Regions from separate parts of the Homo sapiens genome. Here region 1 is linked to region 2. The links are contacts of gene promoters, found by promoter capture Hi-C in blood cells and fetal thymus (Javierre and others, 2016). All regions are on one chromosome and are shown on one strand. Each heading gives the region's core, a stretch centred on a gene start or on the middle of the fragment in contact. The rest is flanking DNA. Distances are from core to core; before and after follow the strand shown.

Evidence for each region. The method cuts DNA at HindIII sites, captures the fragments that hold promoters and counts their contacts. A CHiCAGO score of 5 or more calls a contact.
Region 1: the fragment with the promoter of PLK2 here is called in contact with the fragment with the promoter of MOCS2 in region 2 in 1 of 17 cell types (activated CD4 T cells); the score reaches 10.2 in activated CD4 T cells.

What each region holds. Positions count from the first base shown.
Region 1 is chr5:58,458,836-58,464,259 of GRCh38, forward strand. It overlaps PLK2 (polo like kinase 2), which reads right to left and starts at 1,251. Exons shown (of 14, transcript NM_006622.4): 1 at 855-1,251; 2 at 150-257; 3 at 1-6. The coding sequence starts at 1,124. RefSeq lists a silencer at 1,569-1,748. The HindIII fragment of the contact is 4,873 bases long and covers 1-2,590 here.
Region 2 is chr5:53,108,507-53,113,605 of GRCh38, forward strand. MOCS2 (molybdenum cofactor synthesis 2) reads right to left here and starts at 1,251. Exons shown (of 7, transcript NM_004531.5): 1 at 745-1,251; 2 at 16-137. MOCS2-DT (MOCS2 divergent transcript) reads left to right here and starts at 1,336. Exons shown (of 2, transcript NR_104654.1): 1 at 1,336-1,642. RefSeq lists a silencer at 990-1,279. The HindIII fragment of the contact is 4,897 bases long and covers 1-4,125 here.

The DNA.
Region 1 (5,424 bases), core at 1-2,500, 5.4 Mb after region 2:
GTCAATCTAAATGAAAAAGCAAGGTAAGGCTTATTAGCTTCCAGTCACCTCGGAAAAGCCAGTGATTACACATGCAGAAGACATTTTCCTAACAGGGAAGGGCCATCCTTGCACACAAAGAAAATACTTTACTCAAGAGTCATACGCACCTTTTCCCTTTGATGAGGTTTAGCTACTCTGCTGTGAGGAATAATTTTTGCGGCGTAGACTTTGTTATTTGTCAAATCTGTCATCTCGTAACATTTTGCAAAGCCACCCTGAAAGGAAACAAAGCCGAGACGGAATTGAGGATGGCACAAAAATGGACGGCAGATATTTTAAATAAATAAATAAATGGGAAGAAAGAAAAGCAAAAAAAAAAAAATTGAGGAATGGAGGAGGGTGGACAGAGGGAGGCATTCGACTTCGTTAAAGCTCCCTCATGAAGAGAAATGCATTGCTGGAAACAGCAAGTTCAAACAGTTTCTCTTCTTCTTTTATAAAGGGGAGCTTTATGGAGGGAGTTGGAACGGGGAGACATGAAAAATAATCTCTGATGAGACTTGTCAGGAAAATTCCCTGGGAGCAGATAGAGGGAGAGAGGTCTGATGTAGAAAGCCCTCGCTTCCAGACTCAAGATGCATTTCTCTGGGCTGCGGGAGACACACAGTTCTGAGGCTAAGAATGCAAAGCCGATCCCCAGCGCTGCCGGCGCACAAAAGCCAGAGGGCAGGTGAGGAGCCCACCTCGCGCTGGGATCGGACCCCCGAAAAACCCGGAAGCGGCGGGCGAGGGACCCCGCGGGCTTGCCCGGCTTGGGGTCGCCCGGACAGACCTCCCGCCCGCCCGGCAGCCCGGCGCCCTCCGCTTGTCACCTTTCCCAGCACTTTGCCCCGGCAGTAGCGCTTCCCAGTCGTGGGGTCGACGATAATCCGCGAGATCTCCGGCCCCGAGTGCGAATGGTGGTGATGGTGGTGAGGGGCCGCCGGGGGCACTTGCGCCTGGGACTGAGGTGGCTGCGATTCCTCGGGGGGCTGCGGCGGCCGCTTCTTCTTCGAGTCCGCTCCGCAACCCTTGCCCAGCGCCTGCTCGCACATTTTGGTGCTGGCGGCTGGCTGGTAGGTGATAGTCCGCAAAAGCTCCATGGTCGCCTTGCCGCCCCGCACTGCCCGCTGCCACCCCCTAGGCGCGGTCACACGTCCGAGCCGGCCGTGGTCCTCGCACCCTTGCCTCTGGTGCCGACTAGCACCCAACACCCCGGTCCACTTGTGCGAGTGAGAGCGCTCGGCGAAGTCTTATATACGGGGAGGCGGGAAGGGGGCGGAGACTCGATACGCGACATCACGTCACGGCCTATGCCCCGCCCCACGGCCGGCCGAGCGCGCGTGGCCGGGAAGCAAGTCTTGTCCCGCCACCCGGGTCTCGCTTCCCAGCGGAGCCGCGCGCCTCAAACGCCGGCCGCCGAGATCTCTTGCGGCCGCGGGAAGGCCTTCAGAGCCGTCCGTGGGCCCCGCTGTCCCGTTCTTCGAAGGCTCCGAGCCTCAGCGTACAAAACAGAATCGCGAGGGCCGACGCCTGGCCTCACCCCCGCCCCAGCCGCCTGGTGGCAGGGCAGTGCCGTGACCCGAGCGAGTCGGGCGCGGGTGTAGACGCAGTCCCTCCCCCGCACAGCCCTTCCCGGCCGCCCGGGGCCTCCTGTGTCAAGGTATCAGGGTGCCCGGAGCCCGCCGCACGGGCAGGCGAGGCCTCCTCCGGCCGTATGACAGGGCTCGTCTGCAGCTGCCCCGCAGTGCCTGCCCGCGCTGTGACGAGCTCGCTGGTGTCTAGCTGGGGCAGTGCCGAGAGGCCGTGGGGGTGAAAGGCCGGGATTCGTGGAGCCGGGCATTCGAGCCCATCGCGCTAGGGCAGACACGGGCCCGCAGCCGGGATCCCGGGCCGATCGGCCAACCGTGCCAGGATCCCACTCGAGGCCCGTCTGGCCCCCGCCCATGCCCCTAGAGCGAGCCTCTGTCTGAGGTCGGCCCCTGAACCTTGCAGAGCGAGGTCGGCGTCCTGGCAAGGCGTCCTCCGCCCGTAGCCCGAAGATTGGAAAGCAAGGGCGCCATCTTGTGGAATGTTCCGGAATGCCGTTAGGTGTCGAAGTGGGCAGCGGTTGACAACCGTGGGCCTTTGACAGTTACTAGTACTAAACATCGATGCCGATTGTGAGTTTCCAATCAGAGTCATCTATGACTTCTTCCGAATGCATCTGTTGAGATGGCTCATGAGCTGCCCTGGTTCCTGGAGAGTCAATCTGAGACTTTCTGGGGTAGGGAGATTGGTAGGATGAAGAGAGGAGCGTAGGCCAGTGAGTGCAAACACAGCTTAGTTTCCCATTTCCAGATTTTGCTGTGCAGTTTGACTAATCTAGGAACACGTTTTTTTGTTTGTTTTTCTTGTTCTAATTACGATAGAGTAACATTTATTGAGGACTGTGCAGTATTTTTAAATGCCTTATTTCATCCTACAACAATTCTGAGAGAAATATTGTAAGGAAGGAAAAATAATTTTCCACCTTTCAAAGTTTTGGCCTGGGTCGCTGTAACCAGACAGATTAACAAGAAAACAAAGAAGCTTATTAACATATACGTCTCATATATACATGGGAGATAACCAGGAAAATTAGAGATGGTTTAAAATCGGGCTTAAATACTATCTTTAGCTAAACCAAAAGAAAAGAGTGGGGCAGGCAAGTTAAGGAATCATGACCAGGAAATGTACGGTAAACAGGAGTGGGGTTTCTTATTTCTTCATTGATAAGTTTTTCATGATTTAGAGTCATTCTTCCTGGTACAGAGGAGACACTTTTACAAATGGAGTTTTGTGGGGTTTTTTTGTTTTTTGTTTTTGTTGTTTTTTTTTTTAGTGAATGTACGTTTCCCTTACGAAAGGGTAATATGCCATTTTTAGAGCATTTCCTGGGTCTGCTGGTTCTCAAAATAATTATCTTAAAATAATCTTTATCCCAGGGCCATATTTGGGGTGGCATATTCTCATCTCCTACATTATTATTCCCATTTTATAGATGAGGCTTGGAGAACTTAGGTAATTATTGTATATTTTTACTAGATCATCGAGGTTAGGTTAATTAGCAGCACACTTGAATCTTTTTACCTATGTTAACAGGATATGGTAAATAGTTTTTTGAAGCTAAATTCCAGAGAAATTTAGAATACCAGATTATTGAATCCCTGGAAGGTACATACAAAAAGTTGCTGCAGTCCACTGTCAAATTTAGGTATGTGTGGTATCAACATTAATCGAACATTTACAAAAATACTGTGTCTCAAATACTTCCAGCATAATGTGGAAAAGAGGCTTATTGCCATTAGAGAGGAGAAAGGGAAAGGCTTTGCCATTAGCGAGGAGAAAGGGAAAGTCTTTGCTGTCACTTCCGTTTTTGATTCTTTAAAGAGTGCAGGGCAAGTCCAGGCATGTTTCTCATAAGTGACAATAGACTTTAACCCCAAGATTGTCAGGGATGGAATAAGGGGTGGGGCTTAGGGGTGGAAATTCAGAATTACGTAATTATCCTCTTTATTCATAAGCCCAGGGGTGACCTTTGCTTCCCAGATTTGTGCAAACCTACTCTCTAAGATGTAGAAGGCTTGCAGGTTTAGAAAATATTACTAGAATTTATCAAAGCTAGTTTACACACCATGTCTTTATGGTTGATAATAAACTGTATATGTATACATATGTGTGTATGTGTATGTGTATTCATTTGTGGCCTAAGATAAAAAACTGAAGAATAGATTGTCATGATTTTTTTTTAAATGTCAATTTCTTCTTTGATTAGCATACACTATGGTATGTATCTTTACCAAATGGACTTCAGTATTTGATAAACTGTTGAACATTCCATGTGAAATTCAGGTCTGTCTGCCACAACATGGAGGCATTTAATAAAATATTAACGCTGTGTAAATCTTATGTTGTCTTCTTTCCGACTGAGAACATGATTTTTTTGGGGTTGTGGTGCCATCATGTGGACAGAACCAAAATTGTAGTCTATAGAACAAAAAAGGAAATAAATGCGCTTTCTATTAAGTAGACTAATTACTAAATATCATGGAGTCAATTTGGTAACCAGTAGGAAGGAAAAAATGGATCCATGCTTCATATCTGGCTTATTTTCAAGCAAATGAAAGTTTGAAATACGTGAAATTTTAAGACAATATGAAAGAATTCTTTCATAGCCTGAATGTGGTAGAACTTTCAACTATTTACAAAATCTAGAATCCCTAAAAAAAAAAAAAAAGCAAGATTCATTAATGTAACTATATAGAAACAAAACCCTTTCATTGATTTAAAATAACAAAACACCACAAATAAAGTCAAAGGATAAATAACACTGGAAAAATTATTTTCAACTCATCACAGAGAAAGAGCTTATCTTCCTGTTATATAAAAACTCCTACAATTGGATAAAATACCAATTATCCAACAGAAAACAAATGGTTCTTACATTTGCTCAATTTCACTCTTCAGAAGAGAAATTGAAATGAAAGATATACTGAGGCACCCTTTCCTACAAAATTGGCAAAACCCTCAAAAGTTGCCGTGAACATGCTCAACTGCTGAAGTGTTGAGGAAGCAGCACTCCATATATTGCTGTTGGGAATGGAAATTGATATAATTTCAGTGAAAAGTAATTTGGCCAAATCTATCAAATTTAGAAATGAATGTATTCTCTTACTTAGGAATTTATCCTATGGATATAATCTCATATATAAAATGATGCATGACACATCAACAAATGATAAAAACCCTGGCCAAATTAAGCCCAATTCTTACATTTGTCAATAAGTTTTTATTTAAAAGAACCGTGCCCATTTGCCGGGATCTAATTAAACTAAAGAGCTTCTGCACAGCAAAAGAAACTATCGTCAGAGTGAACAGGCAGCCTACAGAATGGGAGAAAATTTTTGCAATCTATCCATCTTACAAAGGGCTAATATCCATCATCTACAAAGAACTTAAACAAATTTACAAGAAAAAAAACAACCCCATCAGAAAGTGGGCAAATGATATGAACAGACACTTCTCAAAAGAAAACATTTATGCTATCAACAAACATGAAGAAAAGCTCATCATCACTGGTCATTAGAGAAATGCAAATCAAAACCACAGTGAGATACATCTCACGCCAGTTAAAATGGCGATCATTGAGAAGTCAGGAAACAACGAATGCTGGAGAGGATGTGGAGAAATAGGAACGCTTTTACATTGTTGGTGGGAGTGTAAATTAGTTCAATTGTGGAAGACAGTGTGGCCATTCCTCAAGGATCTAGAACCAGAAATACCATTTGACCCAGCAATTCCATTACTGAGTGTATACCCAAAGGATTATAAATCATTCTACTATAATGACACATGCACATGTATGTTTATTGCAGCACTGTT
Region 2 (5,099 bases), core at 1-2,500:
CAAATTTTTAACTACCCAGGATGTCGAGTTTCTATCTCCTTCCACAGCTGCAACGCTTTTATTTCTTGAGGCACAGAAATGGTCTCTGAACGAACTCCTGTTATTTCAGCACTTTTTGCAAAATACAATACTTCAACCTGAAAGTAAAGAAAATGCTTTTAATAACAACTCATACTCGTTTTCTGACTGTCAATGTTGAGCAGTTTTCTCATTTTCCAAATGTATTGCTTTAATCAAAGACAAATTTTATAAAGAAAATTAAATAACCCGTAAAAAATTTCAGTATACCTACAAGTTCAAATTCTGAAAACTTGTTGTTTTAAATACAATTCAGACTAATTTCTGGATGCCTTTTAGTTTTACAAACTTAAGTGTGCCATCATTAAAATCCTAAGTATTTATCTTCTAGGAAAACATGTTAAGCCTGCCTTAATTGACATAAAAGTATAGCACCTTTTATAAATATGTAAGCAAAGAACAAATGTTTGAGTCAAGAGATGAGTTACACAAATAAAATAAATGAATAAATAAGCGAAAAACCTGTTTCTCACGGTTGTCAAATGACCTTAGATTCCGGTCTGTATAACATCGTCCCCAGACGCTAAGGATTAAGTTATGCAACATAGTAAATCTGACATTTACAGAAGCAAGTAGGTTTGAAACACACGACAGACTGGAATTTGCTAGAACAAACTTGTGCCAGCAGCCTGGTATGTAAGGGATCCGACGAAGTAAAATAGGCACCTGTCACTCCGTGCAAACAACTCTTTACGAAATAATTACAGGTTTGCAAATGATCAAGGGTGTAGAAATCCACAGATGAAGCACAGTTCTTCACAAGAATTCTCCATGAGGTGCATTTCTTTTTAGATTAAAATTTTAGCTTCATCAAAACGAATAATCTGGGAAAGAGGTGGTCATAAAAGGTGGAGGCGCCTTCAGAACGAGTCCGTCCTTGCTGCCGTGAGCTGACAAGAGTTCTCGGAGAGGACCCGACTTCTGCTGGGGCAGTCGCAGTAAAGCCCGGAGACAGGAAGGGCCCGGGGGCGGGGGCGGGGGCGCCCCCGAACCCAAGACGCCGGCCAGGTTGGGGGCTAGTGGGGAGGTCCGACTGACCAAGGCTGGGTATGTGGAGGGAAAGGGCGGGAGAGACACGTCGAGGAGGGCTCCGCACCCAGGCCCGCACGCACACCCGCCACCCTTACCTGGCACAGCGGCACCATCCCGCCTAGGACAGCGGGACCGAATCACGGCCGCAAAGGCGCAGGCGCGGGCTCACCCGGAGCGCAGGCGTAACCCGACGGCGCTCAGCCCCCGCCTGCGCCTGCACGGAGCATGCGCACAACCAGCTCCGCCCCGCGCCGGGCTCTAGCTGTTTCCCTCAGGCGGCCTGTTCCACGCCAGGATTAGTTTTGCTTCGCAGATGGGCCGTGGTGGTGAGAGGAAGCAATCAGTATGGAAATGGAGAAATGGCTTACCATGCATGTCCTTCTCCCCAGGAGGGAGGTCGTGGTGCAGGCGAGCAGACGCCAGACTCCTGGACACTTGCCGCCTGCGTTATGGAGGCTTAGCTAATAACCTTGCAGGGGTCTTCAGGCTTTTCCACTGGCTCACCTTTAGGCTTCTGACACTTTTACCTACGGTATGTGAACCTCGAAAATTTGAGACAGGTCTCAGTTAACTTAGAAAGTTTATTTTGCCAACGTTGAGGACATGCCCGTGACACAGCCTCAGGAAGTCCTGAGGACATGTGCCCAAGGTGGTCAGGGCACAGCTTGGTTTTATACATTTTGGGGAGACAGGAGACATCAATCAATATGTAAAAAGTACATTAGTTCCTTCCAGAAAGGCGGAGACCGTTAAAAGCAAGCCCCGCCCCCCCCAACTGGGGGCTTCCAGGTAGGTAATAGACAGTAGCATTCTTTTGAGTTTCTGATAAGTCTTTCTAAAGGAGGCAATCAGAATATGCATCTATTCTTTGTCAGCAAAAGAGGTGACTTGGATAGAATAGGAGGCAGATTTGCCCTGAGTAATTCCCAGTTTGAAGGGGCCCAAGATTTTTTTCTTTCCCAGGTATATGATTAGTGTTTCTTAAAGACAGAATATCCGCCTGGTCAGAACATTCGAACTGTATGACTTTTCCTGTTTATTGGCTGCTCGGTAATTGTATACTGTCCGTCCAACTTTCCCAATTCTTGCCAACAAGAACTCTTGGCTTTAAATTGCTTGCGTCGTTAAGTGGATGTAAGTTACACGTCCCTTTCCTTGGAGCTCACAGTCCTGGGTAGGAGAGTTTTAAATATGAATGATAATTCCCTGTAATACTAAGGATCTGTGTTACATTTCAAGGGTGGAAGGGGAAAGTGGTTGTGTCACCTGGGGAGTGAGAAGATGCTGAGAAGGTAAATCTGCTAGAATGGTGGCAGTAAATGACAAGAGTGGGAGTAGAGCACGAAGAAATTTCACTTGCCTCTGACAAGCCACAGGGATATGAAGAAGCATAATAAGTTCACAGAAGGGCAAGTAGTTGGCAAGGCAGGTGTGCCTCCAGCAAAGGAGGTGATGAGAAGTGAGGCTGGAGAGTCCTTGGTAGGAAAAATTGACAAGGAGCAATGAATACCAATGTGTATCCTGGTAAAGTTGCTAAACATAAAGGATAAAGACTATATTCACACCCAGGCATAAAAACAAGGGAATGACAATAGTGGCCTTAGACTCCTCAGTGGCATCTGATGGCAATGTGCAGTGTGTAAAAAAGGCTGAGAACAAAAGCATGATCCCATAATATTACAGCCAAACTGGTGGGGCAGGATTCTCCTAAATCAGCAAAAACTCAAAAAACACAATACCCAAGAACCCTTCTTAAAAATCTTTCTTGGGCAAAAAGTCCACTCAATCAAGAGTAATCAAAGTAAATAACTCAGCAATAAAGGTATTAATATGGGAAAAATGAAAAACTAAAAAAACTGGCATTGAGATTTTAACCCATTCAAACGTAAAACTAAGATATCAATTATGGGATATGATTATAAAATAAAATGTAAATGACATCAGAATATTAAAAAAAAATGGAAACTGTCCAAAGTGGGAACATATAGTTACAAAATATCAATTCAGGTTTCTTAATATTTTTCATAATCTTCTTTATTTTAGAAAATATTTTAGGAGCAACTATCTTTTACAAATAAACAATAATCTGATGATTTATAATCCTATCAGTTTCACCAGTTATTTTGTTGATAAATTCAAGTAAATATAGGTCAATAATATTGCCTTGCTTTCATTTTTTTATTTTCTAATTCCTAATGAGGTGAATCTTTTCATATTTTCATTGAGCACTTATACTTCTCTGTGAAGTTTCTGTTCACATCGTTTATTCATTATGCTGTAGATATGACACAGTTCTTTTTTTTTTTACAAAATACAGCCCCATCTATAATTTGTGGATATGCAAGCAAAACTGATACCAAAATATTCCAGGCTTATTCCATAGGCTTTGATTTTACTTTTCTTATGAATTCATTAATTAAATCAGTGAATCATCACAATGGTATATAAATTATTTTAGTAATAGCAAAATGACTTTATGAACATTTGCATTTCACTTAAGCTACAATTTTTTGTGAAAACATAGTTGGAGCCACCATTTTCCCAGTTATTTTTACCATAAGGAATCCTATTTGGTTAAGAAAAAAAACAAGTTGAGGCAAAAACATTTCCATTTTGTTTTCAGATTGAAAAAAGACGAGATTCCATGAGACTAGAAATGTAGGAGCATCTCAGACCTTCACAGAACGCTCTGTTAGAAGATGAGAAACATAACGTTGCTTGTGAGAGGTGAAGCCAGCTGGACTTCCTGGGTCGAGTGGGGACTTGGAGAACTTTTCTGTCTAGCTAAAGGATTATAAGTGCACCAATCAGCACTCTGTAAAAACACACCAGTCAGCGCTCTGTGTCTAGCTAAAGGATTGTAAATGCACCAATCAGCACTCTGTAAAATGGACCAATCAGTACCCTGTAAAATGGACCAATCAGCAGGACGTGGGCAGGGACAAATAAGGGAATAACAGCTGGCGCCCCTAGCCAGCAGTGGCAACCCACTCGGATCACCTTCCATGCTGTGGAAGCTTTGTTATTTCACTTTTCACAATAAATCTTAGGGTTGCTTACTTTTTGGGTCCATGCCACCTTGAAGAGCTGTAACACTCACCACGAAGGTCTGAGGCTTCATTCTTGAAGTCAGACTAAGAACCCACCGGAAGGAACCAATTCCAGACACACGTGTAGTAGCAAATTATCAAAAATGTTCATTGCCTTTTCTGAAAAACAATTTTCCCAGAAACACCTGGCAGAATCAGAGTTCATTGTGTCAAAAGAAAAACTTTGGACAAATTAAAATGAGCAAAGAACAATTTGTGAAATGTGCCCCTCTCCCAACCAGAACAGGTTCAAAGAGACTCCAGTGCTGCCACATGATCAAAGAATTATGGACAAAAAAAGCAAATAAATTACAGGAAAAGAAAATGAGGTACAGAAACAGCTGGATTGGTTACAGCTTGGTGTTTACCTTACTTGAACAAGGTTCGAACAGTTGGCTGCCTTTGATGGGCTGCAACACAGTGATTGGTATAAGAGTAGGTTACAGCCTGTTTACACATGCAGTTAGGTTACAATTCACTGTGTGTTGAGAAACCTTTAGGCCAAACTTAAAATTTGTAAGGAGGCAGCTTTAGGCTTAACTTGATTTAAAAGTTATTAGATGTTCCATCAGTCGTTTCGCCAATAGGTAATAGGTTTTTTTGGTTTTGTTTTCTGTGCTATTAAAATAGTATATAAAACTTGTCATCATTGATTCTGATTTATCATGTTACAGTTCAGTCTCTAATTGAACTGAGCCTATTTTTTTCCGTAAAATCCAACCTATTCATCCATTTATACAGATTTTTTAAAATCTAAATATTTTATATCAAATTGCTAAAAATGTTTAGTCACATTCTTTTTCTATTGCTGCCCATATATTTTCTGCCATCATTTTCAGCTGCTAAATAGTATCTAGTCCTAGATATCTGGTTACCCATTATCAGGAACTCTTCGTGAAA